2 separate regions of the Homo sapiens genome follow, and region 2 is linked to region 1. Evidence: promoter capture Hi-C in human tissues and cell types (Jung and others, 2019). All regions are on one chromosome and are shown on one strand. The core of a region is centred on a gene start or on the middle of the fragment in contact, and the rest is flanking DNA. Distances in the headings are between cores, read along the strand shown. Region 1 holds the start of OR1M1 (olfactory receptor family 1 subfamily M member 1). Region 2 overlaps ZNF559-ZNF177 (ZNF559-ZNF177 readthrough).

What was found. Contacts are between HindIII fragments. The study calls those that stand out against the background at their distance.
Region 2: a fragment that was not itself captured here is called in contact with the fragment with the promoter of OR1M1 in region 1 in 2 of the 25 tissues and cell types used here (H1 embryonic stem cells and neural progenitor cells).

Annotation. Positions count from the first base shown.
Region 1 is chr19:9,084,062-9,090,916 of GRCh38, reverse strand. OR1M1 (olfactory receptor family 1 subfamily M member 1) reads right to left here and starts at 3,856. Exons shown (of 2, transcript NM_001004456.2): 1 at 3,760-3,856. The HindIII fragment of the contact is 13,481 bases long and covers 1-6,855 here.
Region 2 is chr19:9,379,427-9,386,281 of GRCh38, reverse strand. ZNF559-ZNF177 (ZNF559-ZNF177 readthrough) reads right to left here. Exons shown (of 13, transcript NM_001384659.1): 11 at 6,663-6,755; 12 at 6,143-6,225; 13 at 3,665-5,614. The coding sequence ends at 4,505. It overlaps ZNF177 (zinc finger protein 177), which reads right to left. Exons shown (of 8, transcript NM_001172651.2): 6 at 6,663-6,755; 7 at 6,143-6,225; 8 at 3,665-5,614. The coding sequence ends at 4,505. LOC112268250 (a long non-coding RNA gene) reads left to right here. Exons shown (of 3, transcript XR_002958434.2): 3 at 807-1,542. Among named protein-coding and RNA genes, the nearest start is that of ZNF177, 20 kb to the right of the region's middle. The HindIII fragment of the contact is 6,564 bases long and covers 2,324-6,855 here.

The DNA.
Region 1 (6,855 bases), core at 2,607-5,106:
GGGATTACAGGCATGAGCCACCGCGCCCGTCCTGAACTTTTTATTTTTATAGTCATTTCCAGTCATCTCCTCTTTCCAGACACCCTAAATGAAAGGCTCTTATTACTTCTGAGTTGCCAAGTTCACTAATCTTAAGCTAGCCTCATGCATCCAATTATCTTCCTTTGAAACAATCCTGAAGTCGGCCGGGCGCGGTGGCTCATGCCTGTCATCCTAGCACTTTGGGAGGCCGAGGCAGGCGGATCACCTGAGGTCGGGAGTTCAAGTCTAGCCTGACCAACATGGAGAAAACCCGTCTCTACTAAAAATACAAAATTAGCCGGGCATGGTGGCGCATGCCTGTAAACCCAGCTACTCAGGAGGCTGAGGCAGAGGTTGCAGTGAGCCCCGATTGCGCCACTGCACTCCTGCCTGGGCAGCAAGAGCGAAACTCCATCTCAAAAAAAAGAAACAATCCTGAAGTCACTAAATTAATCTTCCTGCATTACAGTTCTGATCATGTTACTTTTATATTTTTATTTTTTATTTTTGTGATTTCTAATGAACACCTTGCAGATGTCACTTTTATTCACTCACGCATTCGTTCATTCATTTTGTAAAAAATTATTGGTAATTGCAATATATAGTGACAGGATCTGGCCTGAGTTGTGGGGACAAATATATGAAAATACACAGACCCTGTCCTCAAGACATTTGAAATCAGGAATTGTTTGTCTTTGTTCATTTTTGTGACCAGCATCTTGTCTGGGATACAGAAGACATAAACATAATTGTTCCATATACGCATGAATCAGTGATGGTTATCCTGTATTGCCAGGCACTGATCGAAGGTCTCTGCTAATTTGCTACTCACGACAACAGAATAATGTTAGTGCTATTTCATGCAGGAAGAAATGGAAGCACAGAAGATTAATACAATCAAATGGGGTTTAACTGAGAGCAGGTGGCTGGATTAGCCCAAGCATTCTAAATCTAGAGCATGTACTCTTAATCTCTGTAATTCATGAAGCACGCATGGATTCATGAATTCACAGTTTAGTGAGGGAGATGAACTCCAGGCAGCATTTATCAGATTATGAGGAGCTTGGATTAATAGAGAATCACACCCCACACACAGCACCCCTGAGGATTGTAAGAGCACTCCGAAAACTGTTGAGGCAGCCAGGGATTTTTGGAAAATGTGTTGGCTTTAGGCAGGGCACAGTGGCTCACACCTGTAATCCCAGCACTTTGGGAGGCTGAGACAGGCGGATTGCCTGAGGTCAGGAGTTCGAGACCAGCCTGGCCGACATGGTGAAACCCCGTCTCTACTAAAAATACAAAAAATTATCCGGGCGTAGTGGTGGGCCCCTGTAATCCTGGCTACTTGGGAGGCTGAGGCAGGAGAATCGCTTGAACCCAGGAGGCGGAGGTTGCAGTGAGCTGAGATTGTGCCATTGCACTCCAGCCGGGGTGACAAGAGCGAAACTCTGTCTCAAAAAAAAAAAAAAAAAAATGTGGTAGAAATACACAATGGAAAACTATTCAGCCATAAAAATGAAGGAGATCTTGTCATTTACAGCAACATGGAAAGAATTGGAGCATATTATAAATGAAATAAGCCAGGAACAGAAAGTTAAACACTGCATGTTCTCACTCACATGTGAAAGCTAAAAGAAAAAAAATGATTTCATAGAAGTAAAAAGAACAGAGGATACTAGAGTCTGGGAAGGGTAGAGGGAGGGGGCAGATAGGAAGAGATTTGTTACAGCATACAGAACTACAGGCAAATTGGAAGAATAAGTTCTAGTGTTCTATATCCCTGTAGGATGAATACAGTTAACAATAATATGCTATATAGCTAAACAGCTAGAAGGAGGATATTGAGTGTTCCCAACACAGAGAAATGATAAATGTTTGTGATAATAGATGTGCTAATTACCCAGATCTGATCACTATACATTACATATATGGAAACATTACTATGTACCTCATAAATATATACAATTAAAACATTTTAAAAGGAGTCAGAGTATTTTTTTTTTTTTTGAGACAGAGTTTCGCTCTTGTTGCTCAGGCAGGAGTGCAATGGTGCAATCTCAGCTCACTGCAACCTCTGCCTCCCGGATATAAATGGTTCTCTGGCCTCAGCCTCCCGAGTAGCTGGGATTACAGGCACCCACCACCACACCTGGCTAATTTTTTTGTATGTTTACTAGAGATGGGGTTTCACCATGCTGGCCAGGCTGGTCTTGAACTCCTGACCACAGGTGATCCGCCCGCCTCGGCCTTCCAAAGTGCTGGGATTACAGGTGTGAGCCACCGTGCCTGGCCGAGTCAGAGTATTTTTCCATCTCAAGGAAGCCAGTGAATGCTCTGTGATTAAACTACTAATGGAATCAAGGAACTGATCTCAGACATCCTCCTGCCCTGACACCTAAGCTTTCACTGAATTACTCTGTCACTCCTCATTCTTCCACAGCTCTTGGGAAAAATTTAAGTATCAGGAACCCGAAGATTCATCCCTTAAGCTTCTTGATGAGCCTCTCTCCAAGGAAGCACCAGTCCTATCCTATCTGGACCTCTGCACTCTGTGTCTAAGATCTCTCAGCCTGGAATACTTGGGAATCTCCAAGGGCTTCCAAGACCCAACATGGGGAATAACACAAACTTCTGCCTACAGAAGTACTGAGGAGGAAGCCATCTGTTCCTTCAGGCACTCAAGTGGGCTTGGAAAAGAAAGTCCAGGCTGGGCGCAGTGGCTCATGCTTGTAATACCAGAACTTTGGGAGGCTGAGGCGGGTGGATCACCTGAGGTCAAGAGTTGGAGACCAGCGTGGCCATTATGGTGAAACCCCAGCTCCACTAAAAATACAAAAATTAGCTGGGTGTGGTGGCGGGCATCTGTAATTCCAGCTACTTGGGAGGCTGAGGCAGGAGAATCTCTTGAACCTGAGAGATGGAGGTTGCAGTGAGCCAAGATCATGCCACTGCACTGCAGCCTGGGTGACAGAGTAAGACTCCATTTCAAAAAAAAAGTCTAGTTACGAAGAAAAACAGTGCTACAAATAATCATGGTTTTTAGGTAAAGGACTGGTAGCATCACAACTAAACCAGGCTGAGCTAGTTTGGTAAGAAGAGCCATTGGATTCTGGGCTGACAAGTGGGTGCTGATTGACCAGACAGAATCTTCCAGTGTCGGCCGAGCACAGTGAATTCCAGTACTTTCGGAGGCTGAGGCGGGTGATCACCTGAGGTCAGGTGTTCGAGATCAGCCTGACCAACATGGTGAAACCTTGTCTCTACTAAAAATACAAAATTCACAAGGCATGGTGGTGTATGCCTGTAATCCCAGCTACTCGGGAGGCTGAGGTAGGAGAATTGCTCGAACCTGGGAGTCAGAGGTTGCAGTGAGCCAAGATCGTGCCATTGCACTCCAGCCTGGGCAACAAGAGCAAAACTCCATCTCGGTGGGGGAAAAATGTTCAAAAAATCAGCTGGGTGTGGTGGCACATGCCTGTAGTTCCAGCTACTCTAGAGGCTGAGGCAGGAGGATTGCTTAAGCCCAGGAGGTAGAAGCTGCAGTGAGCTGTGATTGTGCCACTGCACTCCAGCCTGAATAACAGAGCAAGGTTCTGTCTCTAAAATAAATAAATCAGTAAATCAATAAATAATAAAAAAGAATCTTCCAGTGTATCTGAGATCATTGAGCTTGGCTTCATTAATTTTACCAACATTCGTTCAGTCTCTCTCTCTCTCTCTCTCTCTCAGCTCACTCACTGGGCTATCTTTCCTCTTCTTGACACCATCACCCAGGCATGAGTTAAACTGGCTCAGTGTCCTCCCAGCAGGTACTAGATGATGAAGTTAGATGTTTGGGCCAGCAGATGCTACATAGAAATACTGGGAAGTTGTCCTCCTGGTCCAAAGAAGAAAAGCTAGGGTGGGGGATAAGTTGTAGGAACCGAGGGAATATTTACAATTTCTGGGCCAATAAGAAGTCAATTCCCCAAGCTCCTTGTTACACAAATTGTCCAATTTCATCTCTAGTCCCTGAATAGTTCTGTTTCCTATGGGGGCTGGGACGTGGCAGTAAGAAGCATTTTATGTCTTCATGAGGCAACTTAGGGGTAAGTTGCATGATTCCTAACTTTCTCTGCACCCTCTCTTCCAGGAACAAACTCTCCCTGTCTTCTAAACTCAGTCTTTCCAATGCCCAGGGCTTCTTATATCAGAAGGTTCCATTCTTATTGGAAGCCAATGTTCCTCATCACTTAAAGAATTAAGAAATGGCCGGGTGTGATGGCTCACGCCTGTAATCCCAGCACTTTGGGAGGCTGAGGCGGGTGGATCATGAGGTCAAGAGATTGAGACAATCCTGGCCAACATGGTGAAACACTGTCTCTACTAAAAATACAAAAATTAGTTGGCATGGTGGTGCACACCTGTAGTCCCAGCTACTCAGGAGGCTGAGGCAGAAGAATCGCTTGAACCCAGGAGGCAGAGGTTGTGGTGAGCCGAGATTGCACCATTGTACTCCAGCCTGGGCAACAAGAGCGAAACTCCATCTCAAAAAAAAAAAAAAAAAAAAAAAGAAAAGAACTAAGAAACACTCCAAACATTTTCCCACGTCCACCCAGTGATCTGTCACCAAGACCCAGGGCTGCCTGCTTTCATCACTCAACCTCAACAGAACAACTCTCTATAAAGGGATCATGGCTTTCATTCAGTTCTGCAAAAGGAGAAACTAGAGCCTACCCTAATGGATGTACATGGAGAGAGTGGTTGGCTGACTAAGTCTGCAGCCAGATTCTCACTGAGTATTGGGACCATGGTGGCATTACTGGGAATTTTCAGGAATTTGGTTTTATAAGGTCATGCCCAGATTATTGGGTTGTGTCTACTCAGTAAACACTCATGAAACTGATGGATACATGAAGGCTCAGTTTTTCAAAGCCTTTAGCTATGTAAAGAGCAAAATACTAGGTTGAGCCATATGCAATTGTCAATATTCTACCATTTTTGATCAACAAAACTGGCATTTTTTTTTTTGGTATGCCTCAGCTTCATATAATGAAATCCTGTGTGCCCAATCACTCAGCTTCCACACCTACCAAGTCAAGCCTCTGTTGAATCTGTGTCCTACCTACTTTGACCTCTCTCTTCCCAGAGATAATTTCAGAGCAAATTCCATATGTATAATGATTTTGGTATGTCTTCAAAAAACAAAAAGCTCTTTTTGAAAGCATAACCACAATACCATTATTATTATTATTATTTTGAGATGGAGTCTCGCTCTGTGATCCAGGCTGGAGTAGAGTGGTGCAATCTTGGCTCACCGCAACCTCCGCCTCCCGGGTTCAAGCGATTCTCCTGCCTCAGCCTCCTGAGTAGGGAGGCTCCCAAGTTGTATTTTTAGTAGAGACAGGATTTCACCATGTTGGCCAGGCTAGTCTTGGACTCCTGACCTCAAGCGATCCACCCACCTCAGCCTCCCAAAGTGCTGGGATTACCGATGTGAGCCACTGCGCCTAGCAATTATTTTGATTCAAAATATTAATAATAATTATATAACATTTTCAAATACCCAATTATTATTCAAATTACCCAAATTGCCTCATATATTTTTAGTTTTTTACATCAGAATTCATATAATGTCCATAGATTGCAGTTGGTTGATTACTGTTTTAAGTCCTTTTAATCTATAGGTTTTTCTGTTTTCCTTTCTTATTTTTGAACAGGGTGTCATTCTGTCACCCAGGGTAGAGTGCAGTGGTCTGGTCATAACCCACTGCAGCCTCCAATTCCTGGGCTTACATAATCCTCCCTCTTCAGCCTCCTGAGTAACTGGGACTACAGGTGTGTGCCATCAATCCTGGCTAATTTTTAAAAAATTTTTAATGTTTTATAGAGATGGGGTCTCGCTAGGTTTCCTAGGCTGGTCTCAAACTCTTGGCCCCAAGGGATTCTTCTGCCTCAGCCTCCTAAATTTTTAGAAATTTGGTTTTATGAGGCAATGCCCAGATTATGGGGTAATGTGCTCACTCAATAAACACTCATGAAATAAAAACCTTTCATGATAAAAATTCTGAAGTGCTGGAATTACAGGTGTCAGCCACCACACCCAGCCAAAAGCTCTTGTTTCTCTTTTACCTATTACTTCTTTAATGCTTTTCCTTTATTTACGTAGATCTGAGTTTCTGACCTCTATTATATTCTTCTCTATAAATTACTTCTTTTAACATTTTTTTTTCTTTGAGACGGAGTTTCACTCTTGTCGCCCAGGCTGGAGTGCAATGGCACGATCTTGGCTCACTGCAACCTCTGCCTCCTGGGTTCAAGCAATTCACGTGCCTCAGCCTCCTAGGTAGCTAGGATTACCTGTGTATGCCACCACGCGCAGCTAATGTTTTTGTATTTTTAGTAGAGACAGGATTTCACTATGTTGGAGAGTCTGGTCTTGAACTCCTGGCCTCTAGTGATTCGCCCATCTACCATAGTGCTGGGTTTACAGGCATGAGCCACCACACACAGTCCTGAAGCAGCTTTTCAGGTTAACTTTAGAATGCCTTTGGCCAAGAGGAGGGGTCCCTTCAGATGGATGGGGGTGGTTATTTTTGGCTTACAAGCACTTGCTGGGTTTGTTTGGAGAGTCAACAGTTGACAGTAGCATCAATATTAATGGTTATATTACTTTTTTATTTTTTTGAGATGGAGTTTCACTCTTGTTGCCCAGGCTGGAGTGCAATGGCATGATCTCAGCTCAGTGCAACCTCTGCCTCCTGGGTTCAAGTAATCCTCCTGTCTCTGCCTCCCAAGTAGCTGAAATTACAGGCGCCTGCCACCACGCCCAGCTAATTTTTGTATTTTCAGTAG
Region 2 (6,855 bases), core at 4,356-6,855, 290 kb before region 1:
TCCTCCTATCTCCTTACTTGGCGCCCTGTGGTAATTAAACTCTCTGCTTAATCCGTGTCTGTGTAATTGGTCTGCTACTACACAGCAGACATATGAACCTGTTGGTTCTATAACAATTCTAAAGTCCTTGTCTGCTAATTCCAACTTCTCATATCATCTATGGGTCTATTTTTGTTGGACCTTTTTCTCCTGATGATTGGTAACATTGACCTGCTGCTCTGCACATCATGTGATGTTTTAAGTTGGATGTGGATATTATGCTTAAAAGAACAGCAGAAATTGAAAAATATTTTCATCTGGAAGTCACTCCATTTCCTCTGCCAAGCAGTTTAGGTGAGAATCTCCTCAACTTTGATCCAATCAGAGGTTGGGATGTAAAAATTAGTTTTGGTTCACTTCGGGTTTCAAACATCTTGAGTAAGATCTTTCCTATGACTATTTCAGACCACTCCCTCTAACAGGACTGTGGAATCTAAGCACTACAATAGGGATATCCATTTTTTCCTGGTTAGTGCCCAGCACCAGCTGTTGCTACACACTCAGCAAATCATTATAGGGATACGCAGCACTGGTAAAGAGAGTCTATTTTATATTATAGTGTCACACTAGCCTTGTGACCATTAATGCCCCCTGGTCTCTCCATATTCCAGTAAAGTTCCTCTGCCTGTGGCAGGCCTGGCTCTCCGCCAATCTGCTCCTAGACCAGGAAAATGCCTTCAGGGAAGAAACCAGCCACTGATTTCTGCTCTTCTAGGAGGAGCTCATCCTCTGGCATTTAATTCTTTCACTCCTTTTTTTGTCCACAGATTTCCAGGGTCTTTGAAGATGTTAGTTCACTGTTTATTCATGTGGGTTCCTGTAAATGTCTGCAGCCAATCTGGAAGTGGAGCTGTATTTGGAACTTTTTGAATCTAAATCAGTTTGGGAGAAGTGAGTCTTTTCAGAATTTGACCTTTCAATGAATGTCTCAAATTTGTTTACGTCATCTTTAATGTTTTCAATACTGTCTTCAAAACAATTTGGTAAGTTTAAAATTTATTCTTCCACAATTTTGGTAAGTTTAAAATTTATTCTTCCATATGTTATACCATTGTTGCTCTTATAAATGGTATTGACTTTTAAATTTTATTATTTCTATTCCTGAGTATAAGTTGCAAGTTTATCTTTATTAAGATAGTAAACATTTTCATTAATTTAAATATAGATCCTTTGAAATTTTCCATTTAGGTAATCATATTATAAATAATGACAGATTTACTTCTACCTTTCTGGTCCTTAGGTTTTTAAATATCTTTTCCTAGCCTGCCTCACTTAAGATTCCAGTAAAATACTAAGTAGTGGATACCATTGTCATCTTCCTGATTTTAAACTCATTTTCTATTTTCCACCATTCATTTATTGTTTACTTTTGCATTTTTTTATACAATGTTTATCATATTTTCAAAGATTTTTCTCAGTAATACCTCTTTATGGCTTTTTCTTTATCTACTGAGATTATCCTATTTTTTCAATAATGCATTAAATGCTTTGAACACTGCCTCATTCATTCTAGGTGCCTAGTAATTATTAGTATGAGTGAATGAGTAATAAGCCTATTTTAAAAGTGAATTGTATTTATTGATTTTTCTAATGTAAAACCAACTTTGCATTTCTGGATAAATTTAAATGCGATATGATGGTTTCTTTTTAAAAAATACCCAGTTCCGGCCAGGCATGGTGGCTCACACCTGTAATCCCAGCACTCTGGGAGGCTGAGGTGGGCAGATCACGAGGTCAAGAGATCCAGACCATCCTGGACAACATGGTGAAACCCCATCTCTAACTAGCTGGGTGTGGTGGCCCTTGCCTGTAGTCCCAGCTACTCCGGAGGCTGAGGCAGGAGAATCACTTGAACCCAGGAGGCGAAGGTTTGCAATGAGCTGAGATTGCGCCACTGCACTCCAGCCTGGCAACAGAGCGAGACTGCATCTCAAAAAAAAAAACGAAAAAAAAAAAAAACCCAGTTTCCTTCTATTTCATAAATTATTTTTGAAGGTTTTCAGGCTTCATTCTGTCCTTGTCTGAGTTTGTTATCCTGCCCTCATATACTGCCAGAATGTTTTTGTTTTTTGTTTTTTTGAAATGGAGTTTCGCTCTTGTTGCCCAGGCTGGAGTGCAACGGTCCAATCTCGGCTCACTGCAACCTCTGCCTCCCGGGTTCAAGCGATTCTCCTGCCTCAGCCTCCCAAGTAGGTGGGGTTACAGGCATGTACCACCATGCCCAGCTAATTTTGTATTTTTGGTAGAGATGGGGTTTCTCCATGTTGGCCAGGCTGGTCTCGAACTCCCAACCTCAGGTGATCCGCCCGCCTTGGCCTCCCAAAGTGCTGGAATTACAGGCGTGAGCCACCGCGTCTGGCCGAGAACGTGTTATTTTTCTAAATTCTCCAAGTGTTGTCATATTGCGTCAATATGGTGCCTCCAGAAACCAAAAAAACCGACCAAGCATTGTGCTGTTTGTGATTAGTAGTACAAATTGCAGCAATTCTCCTTTCACCTTAGAGGGAATATCTTGACAAGCGCCAGACAACTGAACCCCTAGAAACTTCAGGTGGTTAGCCTGAATGTTTGGGTGTATTCCCCAACAAACATTCACGTCTGTCTTACGAAAGAACTCATAAAGGCATCAATAGAGAGGACAAGTTGTGGGATGTAAAGATGACCATACCTGCTGGATGTTATTGCAAGCAACAGTATAACTGATGTAACGCTGAGAAAAAGTAAGTTGCTCCTGGTTGTCCTTACAGGTTGAGAAAATGGTATTTCTAGGTCAGTAGCTCACATTTGTAGTAAATTAATGAACATTAGTTATTAGGGGAAAAGTATGGGCACTAATAGCACAATTTGCCAGAAACATAAAATGAGTAAACTTAAATGTACCCAATTACAGTGCCCCCCAAAAAAGGAGAGTTTTTTTTTTTTTTTTTTCCCTGAGACACGGTCTTGCTGTGGCCCGGGCAGGAATGCAGTGGCATGACCTCGGCTCACTGCTACCTCTGCCTCCTGGGCTCAGGTGATCCTCTCACCTCAGCCTACTGAGTAGCTGGGACTTACAGGTACACAATACCATACCTGGCTAACTTTTTTTTGTTTTGTTTTTTGTAGAGATGGAGTTTCGGCTCATTGGCTGGGCTTGGTCTTGAACTGGTAAGCTCAAGTGATCTGCCCGCCTTGGGCTCCCAGACATGCACCACTGCACCTGGCCTAGAGAGAGAGATTTTTAAAGAAAACAATTTGGCTGGGGGCGGTGACTCACACTTGTAATCCTAGCACTCTGGGAGGCCAACACAGGCAGATCACTTGAGATCAGGAGTTCAAAACCAGCCTGGCCAACATGGCGAAACCCCACCTCTACTAAAAATACAAAAAAGTAGCTAGGCGTGGTGGCATTTGCCTGTAATCCCAGCTACTTGGGAGGATGAGACACGAGAATCACTTGAACTCAGAAGGCGGAGGTTGCACTGAGCTGAGATCACACCACTGCACTCCAGCCTGGGCAACACAGCAAGACCTAATTATTCCTTTTTTGGTAGAGATGGGGTCTCACTGTGTTGCCTCAGCTGATTTCAAGCTCCTAGACTTAAGTGATCCTTCTGCCTCAGAAAACACAATTTTTCAACCATACTTGAACGATTCCTAAAACTTGACCATTTATTAGATGTAACAGTTGGGACTGAAATCAGCTGAAAGAGGAACTTCCCACAAGAGTGGTTTAAACCACATGGCAGTTAATTTTTCTCATGTAACATGAAATCCAGAGATAAGCAGCACAGGATTAGTGCAACCAGATAATATTGTATCTCCCCTGTTGTTTCATTTAGTATCCTTTCTCTGTCCTCCTCTTGGTGTATATATTTTCTAGGAAATAAGGGACAAGACAAAGGGCAAATAGTTAAGAAAAAAACACCAGATGAGATATTCCCATTTCCATGAGCTTCCTTAGCAGCTGTATCCAGTGACTTCTGCCTACTTTGCATGGGCTAGGGATGTGAACATATTTGGCCGCTCACAGCTGTAAGGGAAGCTGGGTGAAAACTGTCCACATTGCCAGCTTGAACTAAATGGTAAATTTTATTACTTTAAGAAAGAAGGGAGGAATGGATATTGAGACAGCAACTAGTTCTGTCTGCCACAGTACATCAGTCAGTGTCCAGCAATTATGTTCAAATCTATGTCACACAGAATCTACATATTGAAGACCATGTGTTCTGTTCACAATGCAATTAAACTGAAAAGATAACTAAAATATTCATAGGATCTACAGTTGTGACACATATAAGAATGAAATACTCACTGATAAAAACAATCATAGCTATAACATTTATAAGGTTTGTCCCAGTATAACAGGCATCCAGAGTTGGGCCAGAAGGCTGTTTCCAGGTGACCATAACAGGGCTTCTCTCCAATATATGTTCTAAAGTGAGAAAGGAGGCATGAGGGGCAACAAACACTTCCCTGAGTCATTTCATTCATGGAGTTTCTGGCCATTGTGGATTCGCTTGTGCATTATAAGGTTAGTGCTTGTGCTAAAGGCTTTTTCACACTGAATACATTTATAAGGCTTCTCTCCAGTGTGAGTTCTCACGTGTACCCTCAGGCAAGAGGAATTCCTAAAGGCCTTCCCACATTCTTTACACTCATAGGTTTTCTCACCAGTGTGAGTTCTCTTGTGCACAATAAGGTAAGAGCCTGTGCTGAAGGACTTTCCACACTGGTTACACTCATAAGGCTTCTCTCCAGTGTGAGAGCGTGTGTGTTTCTTAAGGGATGACTGATCGATGAAGGCTTTTCCACAGTCACTGCATTCATAGGGTTTCTCTCCAGTGTGGGTTCTCACATGTTTCTGAAGGGATGAAGGAACAGTGAAAGCCTTCCCACATTCCTTACAGTCATAGGGTTTCTCTCCAGTGTGAGTTCTTTTGTGCACATTCAGATGAGAGCTCTGGCTAAAGGATTTTCCACAGTGATCACACTCATAAGGCTTCTCTCCAGTATGAGATCTCATGTGTTTCTTAAGGGAAGACTGAAAAATGAAGGCTTTCCCACAGTCACTGCATTCATAGGGCATCTCTCCAGAGTGAGTTCTGACACAGTTCTGAAGGGACAAAGGGTCAGTGAAAGTTTTCTCATGTTCATTACATTCCAAACCCTCCTCCACACTACCAGTTTTTGTGTGGACACTAAGGGGAGATATTTTGCCATAGTCACTGCATTCATCACCTTTCTCTCCAGTAGGTATTTGCTCACGTACTGAGCAGGAAGAGTGTAGGCTGAAGGACATATCACATTGCTCATACTCCTGAAACTTCTGTCCTGTGGGAGTTCTTAAGTGTTTCCTGAGGGATGACTCTTGATTGAAAGCTTTTCTACAATCAGTAAATTCAAGAGTTTTCTCTCCAATGTGAATGCTCACATGACTCCTAAGAGTTGAGGGATGGTTGAAGACTTTGCTATACTTTATATATTTATAGCATTTCTCTCCCTTGCAATATCTTGTACAAATAAAGCGAGTGTTCTTTCTGAATTTCCCACAATGGTTACACTCCAGGGAGTGCTCACCAGGTTGATTTTCTGCCTGTTGAAAAGGGAGTAAGTGGTGACTAGAGGCTTTTTCACTTTCACCTTATTCACAGGAATTCTCTTCCATGAGGATTCTGCCATATATAGGAAGCACATGATCATGACTGACATGTGTACCATTTTCAGTAGGTGCGTATGACTTTTGCCCTATTAGCTTTTTCGAGTTGAATAAGCTCACTCCTCTGTCCAAGGCTCTATTCCTTCCCAGCAAAGGGCTTCTTTAATACAGTTTTTCTAATACTGAGTGAAGAATGAATGAATTATGTACTAAATACTTAACTCTAAAATCATATTTACATAGATGTTTACTTGTGGTTATTCTCTGTGAGCCAGCAAGTGTTAACCTAGGTTTACAGATTTCTCCAATTTCATGAAAATCAAACTCCAAACTCTCCCGAGACAGCTTTCTGGTGAAAGCCTGGTGCCTGAATTCTTACCCCTGCTTTGGGTGCTGATGTTTTAACTCATTCAGATTCCCAGACTTCTACTACAAAGACCAGGAATACTTCCTAGTAAGTCTTACCGTGTTTATGCCATTGGATGTTTTTCCCCCAGGAATGTTCTGCATAGCAATTGTATCTTTTGGTTTAAGTTGAGTTTCCCAGTCTGAAATAGCACAGGAATTTTTATAATTATTGGGAGAAAAGGTTGGGATCAAAGAAAAAGGGAGGGAGACCCTATGGATTTGTTTTCAAATAATATCTTCTAAGTAGAGAAATGTAAGAAAGAAGACACAACCAGTGATTCACCAGTGATAGGAACAAGCAGTAGAAATGGGAGGTATTTTAGTTAGAAAGGATTGTGGAGGTTGGGAAATAAGACAGTATTATCTGGCAAAAAGCATTCATGGAGACATTACATTTAAAGAGGAATTAAAACTTCTTTCTCGGAGACCAAATGAACGTATGAACGATTGAATAGATGGTGAAACAGGAAGGAAGCTCATGTCATGGCCTCAGATTTCTTTTCCTTCACTGAGTGACATTCCCAAATGTACTAACCCTCACTGGCCAAGGCTGCACCCTGTTCTGCCCAAGGCTCACCTGCACAGTCACCTTGTAAAATTCCTCTTTCATCTGTCTTCAGCTGTTCTTGATCCACCTTGGAGATCAGACTGTGTCTGCAGAGCTGATACCCTGCTCACGCAGAAAGCAAGGATGTGGGAGAAATGTGTGAGAATTAAATATTCCACAAAACTGATTGCCATACTTTGGCTTTAACTAAAGGATTATTAAA